2 separate regions of the Homo sapiens genome follow, and region 1 is linked to region 2. Evidence: promoter capture Hi-C in 16 types of primary human blood cells and fetal thymus (Javierre and others, 2016). All regions are on one chromosome and are shown on one strand. Each heading gives the region's core, a stretch centred on a gene start or on the middle of the fragment in contact. The rest is flanking DNA. Distances are from core to core; before and after follow the strand shown. Region 1 overlaps SPTA1 (spectrin alpha, erythrocytic 1). Region 2 holds the start of CD1C (CD1c molecule).

What was found. The method cuts DNA at HindIII sites, captures the fragments that hold promoters and counts their contacts. A CHiCAGO score of 5 or more calls a contact.
Region 1: a contact is called between a fragment that was not itself captured here and the fragment with the promoter of CD1C in region 2, in 1 of 17 cell types (fetal thymus). The highest score is 6.1, in fetal thymus.

Annotation. Positions count from the first base shown.
Region 1 is chr1:158,646,406-158,649,462 of GRCh38, forward strand. SPTA1 (spectrin alpha, erythrocytic 1) reads right to left here. Exons shown (of 52, transcript NM_003126.4): 26 at 2,104-2,248; 27 at 1,134-1,315. Among named protein-coding and RNA genes, the nearest start is that of SPTA1, 39 kb to the right of the region's middle. The HindIII fragment of the contact is 1,162 bases long and covers 920-2,081 here.
Region 2 is chr1:158,288,055-158,291,244 of GRCh38, forward strand. It overlaps CD1C (CD1c molecule), which reads left to right and starts at 1,869. Exons shown (of 6, transcript NM_001765.3): 1 at 1,869-2,071; 2 at 3,080-3,190. The coding sequence starts at 2,011. It also overlaps a transcript of CD1B not described here. The HindIII fragment of the contact is 9,220 bases long and covers 1-3,190 here.

The sequences.
Region 1 (3,057 bases), core at 251-2,750, 360 kb after region 2:
ACCAAACATTGTGAAAAAGGCATATCTGTGCCTTCTAGGAACTCATACTTTAGGTTAAGAATGGATAAAAACAAAACAAAACAAAACAAAAAACAAACAAAAAACAGAGCATAGGCACTAATAGCAATTAAAAAACAAAACTGAAAGCAAAAGTATCATATGGAGTAAAATAAGATGTTAATGTTGCTCAGGGGTGGGAACACTACTCTGAAATACTGAGGAGTACAGCTTCATAAAGGGAAGGAAGCACCATTGGAATGGGTGTGGGTGCTATTTATTTAAACTGTGTCAAAAACTATAGCTTTCCAGTGCTGAACTGGGGAGGGGATTTCCAAGAGGAACTACAGTCATTTGCCAAAATTTGCCTCCTTTTTTCTTGAAAAGCATTGCATTGAGAGCTACAACTTCCTGGACCCTCTACTCTAATGCTCCTCTCAGCTGACTGATGCGATAGAGCCAAACGTGGGAACTGTTCCACAAAGTATATGTTTGAGAGGTGAATTTTGGATTGTGATAATGTCTAGACTTTAGTAAGATATTCACAGTTCTCTGGAATTTGGTCCCAATATTATTTTTAAGTTTATCTCTTACTACTTCTCCTTACCACCCCCTCCCCAAACATGTTCTTATGCTTATTCTTTTCTCATGATTATGTCTTTTTTTGCACAGTTCAGTCTACATGAATTGTTTTCTCTTCTGTTAAAAGTTTGACTGATAAGGTGTAATAAAATGTTACTTTATCTACAGTGCATCATCTATTCTACCCAACTCTGAATTCCCACTGCTGTTTGTTACAATGTGTGTTTTCGGCCTCATTATGTTCTACCATAGTTATTTGTATTCAACAGAATACTGAATACAGTAGAAGACTGAATACTACTGTCTCTTCAGTAGAACAAAAAAGCTTCTACATTATAGAAGCTTACTTAATTGGCCTACATGGCTTCATATTCTTTCAAACTTTGTATTTTATTGCTTCTAGTTTCAAACCTGAAATTTTTTATGCCTTGCAAGAGGTGAGACTTAAACGTAGTGATGCCCTCCAAAACCAGCAGTGAACAGCATCTGTACCCAGACTGCTCCCAGACAGTCTACTTAGAGGCCAGACACGGAAGTTACCCACCCCACTCTACCTGGCCTTGCTGAGGAACAGGTAGAATTTCTGGGCCTCATTTAGGCTCTCCTTACGATCCTTTGTACGCCCCTGCAGGTCTTCCCAGGCCTCATTCAGCTCCATTTTCTGTCTCTGCAGGTCCTCAGTGGCATCTGGATGGGACTCACTGAGCCGCTCTGCTGTCTCCCCCAGTATGGTCACCTGGGGAGGTACAATAGCTCTGATAATCAGCCTAGAGACACACCTGAATCTTAGCAAAAGGAGAATCCTGAGTCCCAGTATTCAGCTCCTCAAATAGATATCAGTGATGTACAAGTATGTCATCATACTTTACAAAATAATATCAACCTTTTAGTCCACATAACTCCCTAAGGTAGTTACAATTGGCATTACCATACTTCTTTTTAAAAATAAGAGAGTTGTGGGGAAGAGTGGTTAAGTGACTCTGCTGGTTAGTGGCAACCTCAATTAGGAAACCCAAGGGTCTTGATTCTTCATGTGAGGAGCTTCTTTTTGCTCTGCATGATAATGCCAAGCCTCTGAGTATATCTGACAAGCTCCAGAGTACACTTTTGGGTTGAAACAGAGTTAAACAACTCATTCAATTCCTTGCTAAGAAAAACATGCACCATACTCAGATATTGGCCTGATCATCCTGGGTATGGACATTTGCTATTTCTTCTGGGCTACTGGCCTCCACCTAGCTGCCACAAGATCTGGTCACTTGTAACCCACCAAAGAGGCAAGGGGATATAGGGTGCTCACTCAGACAGCAGGAGTTTAACAAGTTTTTTCCCCATGTTAATGGTCATGGGGCATATCCTTTTCATGGTCTTGCCTTAGGGACAGTGTACAAGAATAAATATGGCACAGAACAGAGAGAAATATAAGAATAAAAGACTGAAAAAGAGAACCAAAGAAGAGGGCATTGGTATACGGCTAAATATAGACTGGAAAGTGTTGGAAAAGCTTTGAAGGACTTGTCTCACCTTATCTCCCAGGGGTACGAGGTCCCTTTCAAAGCCCTCATGCCGTCGCTGAAGAGCCTGAACACTGAACAGATCTGAGCCAGGGTCTGCAGCACTGAGGGCCTGGCATTTCTTCTCAATCTGCTCCTTCGTGTCATCTGCTTCTCTGGTATACAAGAGAGTAGAGAGTTCAAAAGTAAGGATATGTACCAGAGGCAGGCTAGTGGGGGTCACAAGAAAGTTATCATCACTACCACTCACCATCCTCCCACCCACCCCCCCACCCCAACCAATTATCATCATTGTTTTTTATGTGCTAGAAACTTAGGCTCATTTAATCTTCACAACTCCAAGAAGCATAGTTACTATTACTATTCCCATTAAATAGATCAGAAAACTGAGGACTAAAGAGGGTAAGTATTTTCTCAAGATTATACCACTGCTGAATGGTGGAGCCTAAGCTTGAACCAGGCCATCTGACAGCAGTCACATGCTTAACCATCATATTTCCATAGCTTTCTATCTTAAGCATTCTACACACACAGACCTGTCTGAGTCTGTTTTTCCTTCCCTGCATCATCAAAAATACATTTATACACAATGAAGGTGTTTAGTTTCTGTTTTGTTTGTTTACTTTTTTGTATGTGTCTTTGTGTTTCTTAGTTTGAAAATCAAACAAGAAAAATGTTGAATGAGCTGATAGTCAATGTGATGTCTGTTGCCCTCTACTGTCAGCTTCTAGTTGAGAAATGTAATTACTTAAACCTCCTGTTTCAACTTCAAGTTTCTTTCTTTCTGTTTTGATTTTGAAGATAAGGGTCTCACTCTGTTGCAATAGGCTGGAGTGCAATGGCTTGATCAAGGCTCACTGTAGCCTCAGCCTCCTGGCTCAAGTGATCCTCCCAGCTCAACCTCCCAAGTAGTTGGGACCATAGGCCTGTGCCACCACACTGGGCTAATTTTTCATTTTTTATT
Region 2 (3,190 bases), core at 619-3,118:
AAAAAATGTGAATAAACACATAATGTGGTATCTACTATTGTTTTCTAAAACCACAAACCAAGTATTTGCCATTAACAGCACAAGATGAGCAAAGATAACACCTAGTGCTTATGAATGATTTGGGTAGGATTTGAACTGGGTATTGCTCTTAAAGATATTATAGTTCATAGAAATTGCCACATATCTGTGGCCATGATAGGAAGAGCTCATTGAGAATGACTTCTGGCCTCACTATTAACGTTGACAAACCTAAGAAATAGTGTATATATCAAAGTATCATGTTGTACACAGTAAATACATAGAATAAATATAAATTTAAAACAGAAACAATGTTACAAATGGGATTTTCCTTTTTAAGGCACGGTCTTGCTCTGTTACCCAGGCTGGAGTACAGTGACATGAACATGGCTCACTACAGCCCTGACTTTCAGGGCTCAAAAGATCTTCCTGCCTCTGCCTCCCATTTAGCTGGGACTACAGGCATGTGCCACCACATTTGGCCAACTTTTTAATTTTTTTATCGAGATGAGGTCTAACTTTGTTGCCCAGGCTGGTCTCAAACTCCTGGGCTCAAGTGATCTTCCCACCTTGGTCTCCCAAAGTGCTGGGATTACAGGCATGAGTCATTGTGCCTAGCACAAATTCATGCCCAGATTTTAAGTGACTGCTCCAATGCATTCAGTGAATAATTAATATGATTTAAGAAACACTATAATAATAAATGTATTTCCTGGATCTCAAAAAAACTGTGTTCATGTATTTACACATATTAACCAGCCAGGGTCACTGATAAGTCACTGAATACTTCATATAAACTACTTAAATCAAACATTGACAAATGCTGCCCTTTTTATACAATGTGTTTTGGTCAGATCACAAAACAACTTAAATTTGGATTTTTGTGGTCTCCCCATGTATGAGTCCTCTTGAAAAGCTGCATGTTCTGACTATCACAATCGTATACCATTCCACACTGTACAGAATTTTCAGTATTTAGTTGAGATGCATGCTGTTCTTCCAGGACTTCAAATTATGAACTTCCCAGGGGGTTAGTCAGTCAAAATGCTGCTCTAGAGAATATAGTTCTAAGTAGATTTGTATCTGGGATTCTATACATTGAAATTAAAATCACAATGCATTTTAATTTTTTGTTTAAACATCTGCAGTTTAAAACTCTTTGATAGAAGAGATTACATTGTTAACCTCTGTGTGTTTATATGCCTAGTAAGACACTGGTATCAACCATGTACTATGTAATTTTTTAGTGAATGACTATACAGATTAAATGCAGTAGAAGGGCTTCTTTATATTTGTTATGGTCCTATGCATTCTGAATGGCTGCAATTTAATCTCTAAGGATAATGTAGAGTGGACTGTAGTTTATATAATTGTGCAGGGAAATCTTGGAAGATGTAAAAAGCAACGTCTCCAATTTATAAAAGAATCAGTGAGAATGAGGAAATAAGAAAGATGGGTGAAAAGAGGTGAAATTGGAAAGAGAAAACTTTGAGGACATTCAAAAGGGGGAAAGAAAGAATGGAGTGATGAGAAGAGGGGACACTATGGAGAGTGGAGGCAAAGTTAAGTGGAGAAACTGGAAGAACTGTGATCTATTAAAACAAGCAGGAACTGAAAAAATGACATGGTTTCTCCTTTTTATCTTACAAATGACATGCAAAATCCAGAGGGACAAAATGACCTTTCTTTCAATGCCATACACCACTTTGTCTAAGGCAGTTGAGGAAGGGAAGTAGATATAATGGAGCTTAGTGGCAGAGCAGCTGGAATCCTGAGAGAAGAGAATAACTTTAGTTCAGAGCAGGTGGGGAAATGAGAGATTGAGTAGGAGGACCAAGGTTGAGGGAAGCAGATCTTCTTAGTTGCTGTCAGCGGCTGATGGGGAAGATTGTTGGTAGAAGGAAGTCAGAATATAGGTACAGAGGGATAAGTTTGCTAAGAACAGAGATCAGCAAACAGCTTTTCTGAGAGAAAGAAACATCTGCAAATGACATGCTGTTTCTGCAGTTTCTGCTGCTAGCTCTTCTTCTCCCAGGTGGTGACAATGCAGACGGTAAGAACATCGCTGTCAGCTGCAAGGTTACATGTATCTGGGTAGAGTGTGCTGGGCTTTCCCGAGATGGATCAATAGAGATGCCAGAATGCTTGCCATCTGAGCATACCTGTCTCCAGGTCCAGTTTACTCTTTTGGAGGATGGTGGCAGAGCATGGGCTCTGTGTAAGGAAAATGTTATAGCTAAAGTAGTCATTAATGTTTCTCTGTGGTAACTGGTTCAATTTCCATTTCCTCTCCATTTTCCGTTAAAACAATCAGGGCCCAGGAAAATGATGTGGTTTCTCCTTTTTATGTTACAAATGACACGCAAGGTCCAGAGGGATGAAGCAACCTTTCAATGCCACGCACCACTTTGTCTAAGGCAGTTGAGGAAGGGAAGTAGATAAGATGGAGCTTAGTGGGAGAGCAGCTAAAATCCTAAGGGAAGAGAGTAACTTTAGTTCAGAGCAGATGGGGAAATGAGAGATTGAGTAGGAGGCCTAAGGTTAAGGGAAGCAGATTGTCTTAGTTGCTGTCAGTGGCTGATGGGGAAGATTGTCTGTTGGTAGAAGGAAGTCAGAATATAGATGTAGAGGGATAAGTTTGCTAAGAACAGAGATCAGCAAATGGCTTTTCTGAGAGAAGGAAACAACTGCAAATGACATGCTGTTTCTGTAGTTTCCGCTGCTAGTTCTTCTCCTCCCCGGTGGTGACAATGCAGATAGTATGAACATCTCTGTCAGCTGCAAGGTTACATGTATCTGGGTTGAGCATGATGGGCTTTCCCAAGATGGATCAATGAAGAAGCCAGAATGGTTGCCATTTGAGCATACCTCTCTCCAGGTCCAGTTTACTCTTTTAGAGGATGGTGGCAGAGCATGGGGCTCTGTGTAAGGAAAATGGTATAGCTAAAGTAGTCATTAATGTTTCTCTGTGGTAACTGGTTCACCTTCCATTTTCTCTCCATTTTCCTTGCCTCTCTTTTTTTTTTTTTCCTTACACTACTTGCCCTTCTTCCACCAAAAGCATCCCAGGAACACGTCTCCTTCCATGTCATCCAGATCTTCTCATTTGTCAACCAATCCTGGGCACGAGGTCAGGGCTCAGGATGGCTGGACGAGTTGCAGACTCATGGCT